2 separate regions of the Homo sapiens genome follow, and region 1 is linked to region 2. Evidence: promoter capture Hi-C in human tissues and cell types (Jung and others, 2019). All regions are on one chromosome and are shown on one strand. Each heading gives the region's core, a stretch centred on a gene start or on the middle of the fragment in contact. The rest is flanking DNA. Distances are from core to core; before and after follow the strand shown. Region 1 overlaps SELENOI (selenoprotein I). Region 2 holds the start of KCNK3 (potassium two pore domain channel subfamily K member 3).

The links. The method cuts DNA at HindIII sites, captures the fragments that hold promoters and counts their contacts. A contact is called where the count stands out against the background at its distance.
Region 1: a contact is called between a fragment that was not itself captured here and the fragment with the promoter of KCNK3 in region 2, in 1 of the 25 tissues and cell types used here (mesenchymal stem cells).

The regions. Positions count from the first base shown.
Region 1 is chr2:26,374,058-26,378,229 of GRCh38, forward strand. SELENOI (selenoprotein I) reads left to right here. Exons shown (of 10, transcript NM_033505.4): 6 at 983-1,091. Among named protein-coding and RNA genes, the nearest start is that of DRC1, 26 kb to the right of the region's middle. The HindIII fragment of the contact is 4,975 bases long and covers 1-4,172 here.
Region 2 is chr2:26,689,881-26,694,094 of GRCh38, forward strand. KCNK3 (potassium two pore domain channel subfamily K member 3) reads left to right here and starts at 2,842. Exons shown (of 2, transcript NM_002246.3): 1 at 2,842-3,278. The coding sequence starts at 2,996. The HindIII fragment of the contact is 34,558 bases long and covers 1-4,214 here.

The DNA.
Region 1 (4,172 bases), core at 1,085-3,584, 320 kb before region 2:
AATTATTTTAAAGGAAATTTCTGATATTATATGATAAATACTTCGCTATATATCTCTAAATGATAAAAGCTTCCTTTAAAAAAACAATCACAATGCCAGTATTACACCAAAAATTTAACCATTTCTTAATGTTATTGCATGTTCATTTGAACTCTTGATTTTGGAAAGAAAGATATGCACATATAATTGAATGGTTGGCTTTTTGTGTTCATTGCCACCTTTTCAGTGTGTAGAGAGATTTCTTTTTTCTTACTTTAATGGCCTTGCTATTAACTCTCCCTGCCTTGAATCCCAGCTTTTTGTGTTGCCATTTTGCCCATTTGCACCTAAGTCTCCAGTAAAGAAATCAGAAGTTGGAGTGTTTGTTGAAGTGGTTGGGTGGGTAAATTTGGATCATCTTACAACTTAACCAATTTATGAGTTGCTGTTAAAGTGCTCCAAATGATGGCCAGTTGCTTGCATTGTCTACAAGTTAGTTATTTTATAGCATTGTTGGCTAAAAGATTGTATTTTTTTTTTTTTTTTTTTGAGACAGAATTTCGCTATTGTTGCCCAGGCTGGAGTGCAATGGTGTGATCTCGGCTCACCGCAACCTCTGCCTCCTGGGTTCAGGCGATTCTTCCGCCTCAGCCTCCCAAGTAGCTGGGATTACAGGCATGCGCCACCACGCCTGGCTAATTTTGTATTTTTAGTAGAGATGGGGTTTCTCCATGTTGGTCAGGCTGGTCTGGAACTCCTGACACCTCAGGTGATCTGCCCGTCTTGGCCTCCCAGAGTGCTGGGATTACAGGCATGAGCCCCCACGTCCAGCCAAAAGATTGTATTTTTAAAGGTAAGAAGACTTGCCACATACCAAATATAAGCATACTTCTTGCCTTTACTAAAACTGTTTGACTTGACTTAATGCTGCATAAAGCATGGTGACTCCTGATCTTTCTAGCGTTAATGCTTCTGTATGCTTTTGTCTGCATTTTCCTTCCAGACTATTTCTTTTGTCTACATAGTGACTGCAGTTGTGGGAGTTGAGGCCTGGTATGAACCTTTCCTGTTTAATTTCTTATATAGAGACCTATTCACTGCAATGATTATTGGTAAGAAGCTCCATGTTGAAGCCTGTTTTAACCATCACTTTGTTATCAAAAGAGCCGGTATTTGACTATAACAAGCAACAACACCCTTTGCCTCACAAAACCTCCAGGAAGCAGAACAACCCTACAACCTTGTAGGATTTCAGCCTAACCATTAAGAAAAATAAGGTTTCCCTGTTTTTGGGGTTTTTTTGTTCAGCATCAGCTATTTCTAATCAGAGGGAAATACCAAAATAGATCACATAAGCCTGATAAAGTGACTATTCAAATTAACCTAGGCTGTATTGGAGGGTCCACATTTGGTACAGGTTTTATATTTATCTCAAAGTTGAAAATTACTAGTTTGTATGAAATACAGGACAGATGAAATGTAGAGATTATTTTATAATGTATCCACTCAAAAAATTAAGCTTCTATTCCTCTCAGATATCCTCTTTCTTAACCCACTGATTGCTAAAGATTTTTTATGGTGGTAATCTTTCTGTTTTGATTTTAGCTGAAGGGGATATCTGTAGGATGATTGACTGAGTGGAGAGGGTATTAGTGGTATGGAACGAGTGTAAAGAGAAATCTAGATGGTTATTTAGGGGCCCCAGGAGTGGCACTGAGAACCTTTGTAGAAGTAAAAAGGTATATGTGTGGGCTATGTCCTGTATTCTGTTCTCTTATCTAAAAAATAGGCCACACACAGTGGCTCATGCCTGTAATCCCAGCACTTTGGGAGGCCAAAGTGGGAGAATCTCTTGAGCCCAGGGGTTTGAGACCAGCTTGGGCAACATAGTGAAACCCTGTCTCTAGAAAAAACTAAAGTTAATCAGGTGTGGTGCGTGCACCTGTAATGCTAGCTACCTGAGAGGCTGAGGTCAGAGGATTACCGGAGCCCAGTGAGCTATGATCGCATGTGCCACTGCACTCCAGCCTGGGTGACAGAGCGAGACCCTGTCTCAAAAAAAAAAAAAAAAAAGAATAAATAAAAAATAACCCTTTCCCATTTGGTGAACCTTGGTAATGGAATGGGAATTAGGTAAGGCTTAGAAACTGTTTAGAAGATGGTATATTAGGCACTGGCTTTCAGAAAAGGAGTGGTTTGGGCTTTTTTCTGTAGCTCTAGACTGTGCATATTTTAGGAACTATCTTGAAATCTATCAAATGTTCATTTTTGATACCTGTATAAACTGTTTTTTCTTTACCTCAAAAATGCTATTTTTCTTCTCCAATTATGTAGTGACCCTTTTGATTGTCCCATGGCAGGTTTCCTGCATGTTACATTTAAGTGTTAAATTTAGATAAGACAGAATCCTCTGGTATATGAGACATATTTTTTAATGTTAAGTGTGTACTCTAATAGGCACATAATTTTCTTTATAATGTTTCTACTTTTATATAATAAACCCCTGTGTACTATTACCCAGTCTCAACTATTTTCAATACCAGTGCCAATCTTGTTTGAAATGCACCAGTACTCTTTAGCCCCCTGCTTAGCCCCCGGGTTGTGTTATAATATACAGTTTATTTACTTACTGACATATTTGCCTTATATTTGACCTACCATGTGGTGTTCTTTCCCAGAAGTTTGAAGGACTTCCTTTAGGTTTTTTTATAGTGCAGGTCTGGTAGCAGTTTATTCTCTCTTTTTACTTACGTGAAAGTGTATTGATTTTGCCTGAATTTTTTCTTTTGGCATTTTGAATATATCATTTTAATGTCTTTTGACATCCATTGTTTCTGAGTCAGCTCATATATCATTGTCACTCTGTAATGTATTATTTTTCTCTTGTTGCTTTCAAGGTTCTCTTTTTATCTTTGGCTTTCGGAAGTTTGACTGTGATGTACCTAGGTGTGGTTTTCTTTGTGTTTGTCTTTCTTGGTATTTGTTGAGCTGTTGACTCTGTTGGACCTGTAAGTATTTTTGACTGAATGTGTGAAGTTTTCAGTCACAGTTTCACTTCTTGAGATATTTTTTCTTCCCCTCTCTCTTCTTTTCTGGGACCCCACTTACATGTGTGTTACACAGGTTTGCCTGATACTGTCCTAAAAGTAATTTTCTATGGCTTTATTAAGTTTTCTTTAATCTCTTTATTCTTTGTAGTGGATAACTTTTATTCATCTGTCTTTAAATTCATTGCTTTTTTTTTCTTCTGCCATCTCCAATATGCTGTTGAGCCCATCTAGGAAGTCTTTCATTTAAGTTATTGTACTTTTCCCTGGGTGCGGTGGCTCACACCTGTAGTCCCAGCACTTTGAGAGGCTGAGGTGGGAGGATTGCTTGAGGCCAGGAAGTCAAGACCAGCCTGGGTAACATAGTGGGATCACGTCTCTACAAAAAAATAGAAAAATTAAGCCAAATATGGTGGTGCATGCCTGTAGTCCCAGTTACTTGGGAGGCTGAGGCAGGAGGATCACTTGAGCCCAGGAAGTCGAGGCTGCAGTGAGCTGTAATTGTGCCACTGTACTCCAGCCTGGGCAACAGAGTCAGACCCTGTCTCAAAAAAAAAAAAGTTATTGTACTTTTCAGCTGTAGAATTTCCATTTGGTTTTTAAACTTTCTATTTCTCTGTTGAGATTCTTCTGTTCATTATTATCATCATATTTTCCTTTAGTTCTTTGAACATATTTAAAATTGCTGCTTTAAAGTCTGTCTACTGAGTCCAACATCTGGGCCCACTTAAGAGTCATTTTCTGTTGACTGCTTTTTTTTCTATTTCTTTGCATACCTAGCAATTTTTTTTTTGTTGTTGTTGAAAACTGGATATTATAGATTATATTTGTGGAGACTATAATCTGTTCTGCTCTGAGGATTTTTGGTTTTTTGTTCTGATAGGCATTTAACTTGTTTGGACACAGATGAAGAAATTTGTCCCATCACATTGTATTAAGTAGCTCTTGTCTCTGTTTGGTTATTTTCAGCTTTTAGCTGCTGCTTTTTTAGCCAGGTCTCTTGGGGGTCTCCTTTGTGTCTGTGTAGTTTAGTGGTCAGCCAAAGATTTGGGCAAAGTCGATACTGAGATTTTGGCGCTCACCTCTCTATGATTTTTTTGCTTTTGGGGTTTCCCCATCTGAATCTTCGGCTGCTCTTCCAGCAAT
Region 2 (4,214 bases), core at 1,592-4,091:
GGCCCCCAATGCCAGAGCAAACAGGTGGCAGAGACAGGTTGACACTGGGCAGGCACAGGCAGGTCTGAGGAGCCCAGGATGGGAAGAAATGGGATAAGCTGATATGTCTTTGGCACAATCTGACCCAGGTTGCCTACAAGTCCCAGGGGCTACTCAGAAACCTAGACTGGTACCAACATGGCTCCTATTCCAGAACCTTCTCCCCAAGAGAAGGAGAGAGGAGGGGCAGGAAGAAGGAGACCTAGGCTGCCCTCTGGGCTTCAGGGCCTCCCCACTGATAGGTGCCCTGGTCCCACACATAATAGGTGCAACAAGAAAGTGCCAACCTTGGGACATGAGTCCTGGTTCCCCCTCACTCACTGTGTGACCTTGGACAACACTCTTCCTACTGTCTGGGCCTCAGTTTCCTCATATGTAACATGAGAAGGTTGGGCTAAATGATCTCTAAAGGTCCTTTCAGTATTGAAGTGCTCAGAGAAAAAGCTTCATCATGATTAATAATACATGCCCTGCCCCTAAAGACAGCTTTTTCCCTTTTCCAAAGCTCTTTCACTCATAATATCACCTTTCATCGGTACAGCTGTCTGGCCTGGCAGTCACAAGCAAGCAGAACCTGGACACAGCCTTTTCACCTTGAAAACCTGGTCTAGCAACCCTCTTGCTCATCTAGACAGGCTTTGGGGGAATTCGCTTCTGGGGTGACTGTCACCAGGAGCCAATACATCAGAAATGCACAGAACCTAACTTGTACCTTCACCTCTGAGAAGCTGGGAAAGGCAGTACTTTCCTTCCAGGGAGCCAGAAGATGCAAAGGGGAAAAGCCTGCAATAGGCTGAGTTGCTGGTCAGAGGGCAAGACCAGAAATTCTGTGCCTGCAAAGAAACAAAGATCTTCCCTTGAAGAGGGAGGGGGAACATGGTGCTATAAATGTAGGACCCTCCCATTGGGCTCTGAAGTCATTAGAGAGCCTCATATCATCTGATTTGCACACATGTGTTCTTCTTTGATCTCTCAAAACAAATGGTTCAAGACGCGGGTAGAGCTAATATTATTATCTATTCCACTTTACAAATTGAAAAAAAAAAAAGAGAGACTCAAGGAGTCATGGCAAAGAGCATGGGCTTAAGAGGCAGACAGACTGAAGCCTCTTCCCAGCTGAGTGAAATTTACTGATTCTCTACATTGCCTTTAGCCTCAGTTTCCCCATCTATAAAATAGGCATGACCACACCTACCTTTCAGGATTGTGGTGAGGACCAGAGATGATGAATCCCTGACACACAACAGATGCTTAATAAATACTTGTTGAAGGAATGAAGGGGTTGGTGGCACTTCTGGGGTGTCATTGGAGGAGTGTAGTGTCCGGCAGTGACAGGTCAGCCCAGCCTGTGGGTAGACAGTGCTCCAGCTTCTGGCTGACTGCCTCCTGAGTCTGCTCTCAGTCAGGGGCCTTGGTGTCTCTTCCCTGTCTCTCTGCCTGGCCCATGCCAGGGTCCTGTGAAGGACTTTTTAACCCTTCTTGGCACTGAGATTTGCATTCCAATCATTCTGCTCACTCAGCCCATCCAAGTCTGGAGTTGTTTAGAGCTGGGCAAGGCCTGTGGGATCATCTGCTACGACACCTCGTTGAAAAGATAAGGAAACAAGGCTCTGAGAGGGTCAGTAATGCCTGAGTTTCCACTACCCTTCCCACCTCACCACCATAGCCACCATGTTTGACAAATGAAGAAACTGAGGCATAGGGACCCCCTCTCCTGCCCCAGTTCCCGCAGTCTGCCAGTGAGCCTCCTGCTCTGGGCCCCACCTGCCCAATTCCAGCTAGATCCCGGTTCTGCTGGGATGCCCTAAGGTGGTGGCAGGTGCTATCTCTGGCAACTCAGCCTAAGCCCAGCCTGGTGCACGGGTGCAAGACAGGAACCATGGGAGTCGGGACAGCCTAGAAGCCCCTGGGAGCGAAGCAGGAGGCCTAGACTCCCAGCCTGTGCCTTCTCAGCCAGTTCCAAGAACTGTGCTGACCTGGGAAGGCACACATTGCCTGAGAACAGGGCTTTCCCTTGGGTGTCAGCTCATGTGTGCCCAGGTCCACAGCTGGGCCCTGCCTGCTTCCAAGACAGCCAGAGTCTGGCCCAAGGGAGGAAGGAGTGTGGCCTGGGAGGAAGGAACGCTTGGCTGAGTCCCAGTGCTGTCACGAAATCACTGCGTGCCCATGCGTGTCACTTGACCTCTCTGGGCCTCCATTTCCTCATCCATAGGATAAGGGCAGGACAGCGAGGCCCCAAGTGCCTCCTGGCTGCAATATGCTGTGATGAGGGTGGAGGGTGGGGTGGGGAGGGGCTCGCTCTGCCTTCCTTGCCTTCCTGTCTGTTTCTCTGTCATTAGTTTATCTCCAGCAATCCAGGCCTCTCTGTCTCAGTCTGTTGCTCTCTCTGTTTCCATCTTTTGCTCTGTATTTTTCTGCCCGCCTCTCTTCTTTTTCTGTCTGAGTGCACCTCTGATTTTATCTCCTCCTCTGTCACACAGCCCCCTTCCCTCAGTCCTACACTGCCTTTCTCCCATTCTCCGTAGTTATCAGCGTTTCGCTGTCTAGTTTTCTCTGTCTCTCGGGCTCGCTCTCTCTCTCTTTCTCTCTCTCTGTCCTGCCCGGGCTCTCTCGCGGCCGCCCCTCCCGTCCCCTCCGCCAGCCCCCCTCCTCCCTCCTCGGCGCGTCTCCCCAGTCCTTATTTGGCTGGGCGGGAGGGCTGGCGGGAGGAGGCGGCCTGCGGGCGGGGGGCGGGGGGCGGGCGCGGGGCCGGGCGGAGGAGGGCGGTGGGTGGTGCTGAAGGGACAGCTCCGCGGCGGCGGCGGCGGCGGCGGCCCCGGGCGCTGAGCGGGTGCCCGGCGCGGAGAGCGGCGAGCGCAGCCATGCCCCAGGCCGCCTCCGGGGCAGCAGCAGCGGCGGCCGGGGCCGAGGCGCGGGCCGGGGGCGCCGGGGGGCCGGCGGCGGCCCGGGCGGGACGATGAAGCGGCAGAACGTGCGCACGCTGGCGCTCATCGTGTGCACCTTCACCTACCTGCTGGTGGGCGCCGCGGTCTTCGACGCGCTGGAGTCGGAGCCCGAGCTGATCGAGCGGCAGCGGCTGGAGCTGCGGCAGCAGGAGCTGCGGGCGCGCTACAACCTCAGCCAGGGCGGCTACGAGGAGCTGGAGCGCGTCGTGCTGCGCCTCAAGCCGCACAAGGCCGGCGTGCAGTGGCGCTTCGCCGGCTCCTTCTACTTCGCCATCACCGTCATCACCACCATCGGTAACGGCTCGCCGGGCGGGGGGCGGGAACCCAGGGCTGGGCGCGGGGCTCCGGGAGTCGTCCGGGGCCGGCTGGGGCTGGGGGCGGGGGCTCCCCCGAGAGGGGCTGGGCGCCGAACCCTGCGCTCGCAGAAACCCGAGTTCAGCCTGGCGTGTGTGCTCCGCGGGGACGGAACTCGGGGAGGCGTCGATTCCTGGCTCCGGACCTGACTCTCCGGCCGGGCCAGCCCTAACTTGGCCCTGCCATGTTGCATAGGCCCCCAGGGACTCCGAAGTGTGTGAGAGGGGCAGGGACGACCGGCGGAGGCTCGGGCAGGAGGGGTGTGGCCGGGCCAGGCCCTGAACAGGGCGCTGAGAGTGAGCGGCGGGAGAGCGCCAGTGCTCCGTATCCCTGAGGATCGGCTTCCACAGCCTAGCAGGTCTACACCTGCTGGGCTCTGGGGAGGCATGAGGATGTCGGAATGCGGCACTTCGGGGCACTTGGGGCCACCCTATAACGGCGGCTGTGAGTGTACGTGTGTCTGCGTGTTTCAGCTCCAGGAGTTTGGTCGCCACCAGTCAGTGCCTGTGATTTTCTCAGAGCGGCAGAATTGGTGCGGGAAGCCAGATCTGGCCTTGTCAGCCTTCTTCTCTGCTGTCCCAGCAAAACAGTCACCTCACAGGAATAACCCCAGTTCTTTCCAAGCCAGGGCAGATCACCATGTAGGAGGCCACACGTACACCCAGACTGTCAGACAACACAGGCATAGGCACACATGCACACAGATACACACAGGCACTCACAGGGTACACACAGGGCGGGCACACACACACACACACACAGAGAGAGAGACAGAGAGAGAGAGAGAGAACAAACGTTGCCCAGGAAAGGAATCTCTAGCCAGGCCCTTGGTGGTGCTATTCAAAACTGTCCAGACGGGAATAACACCTTACCTGT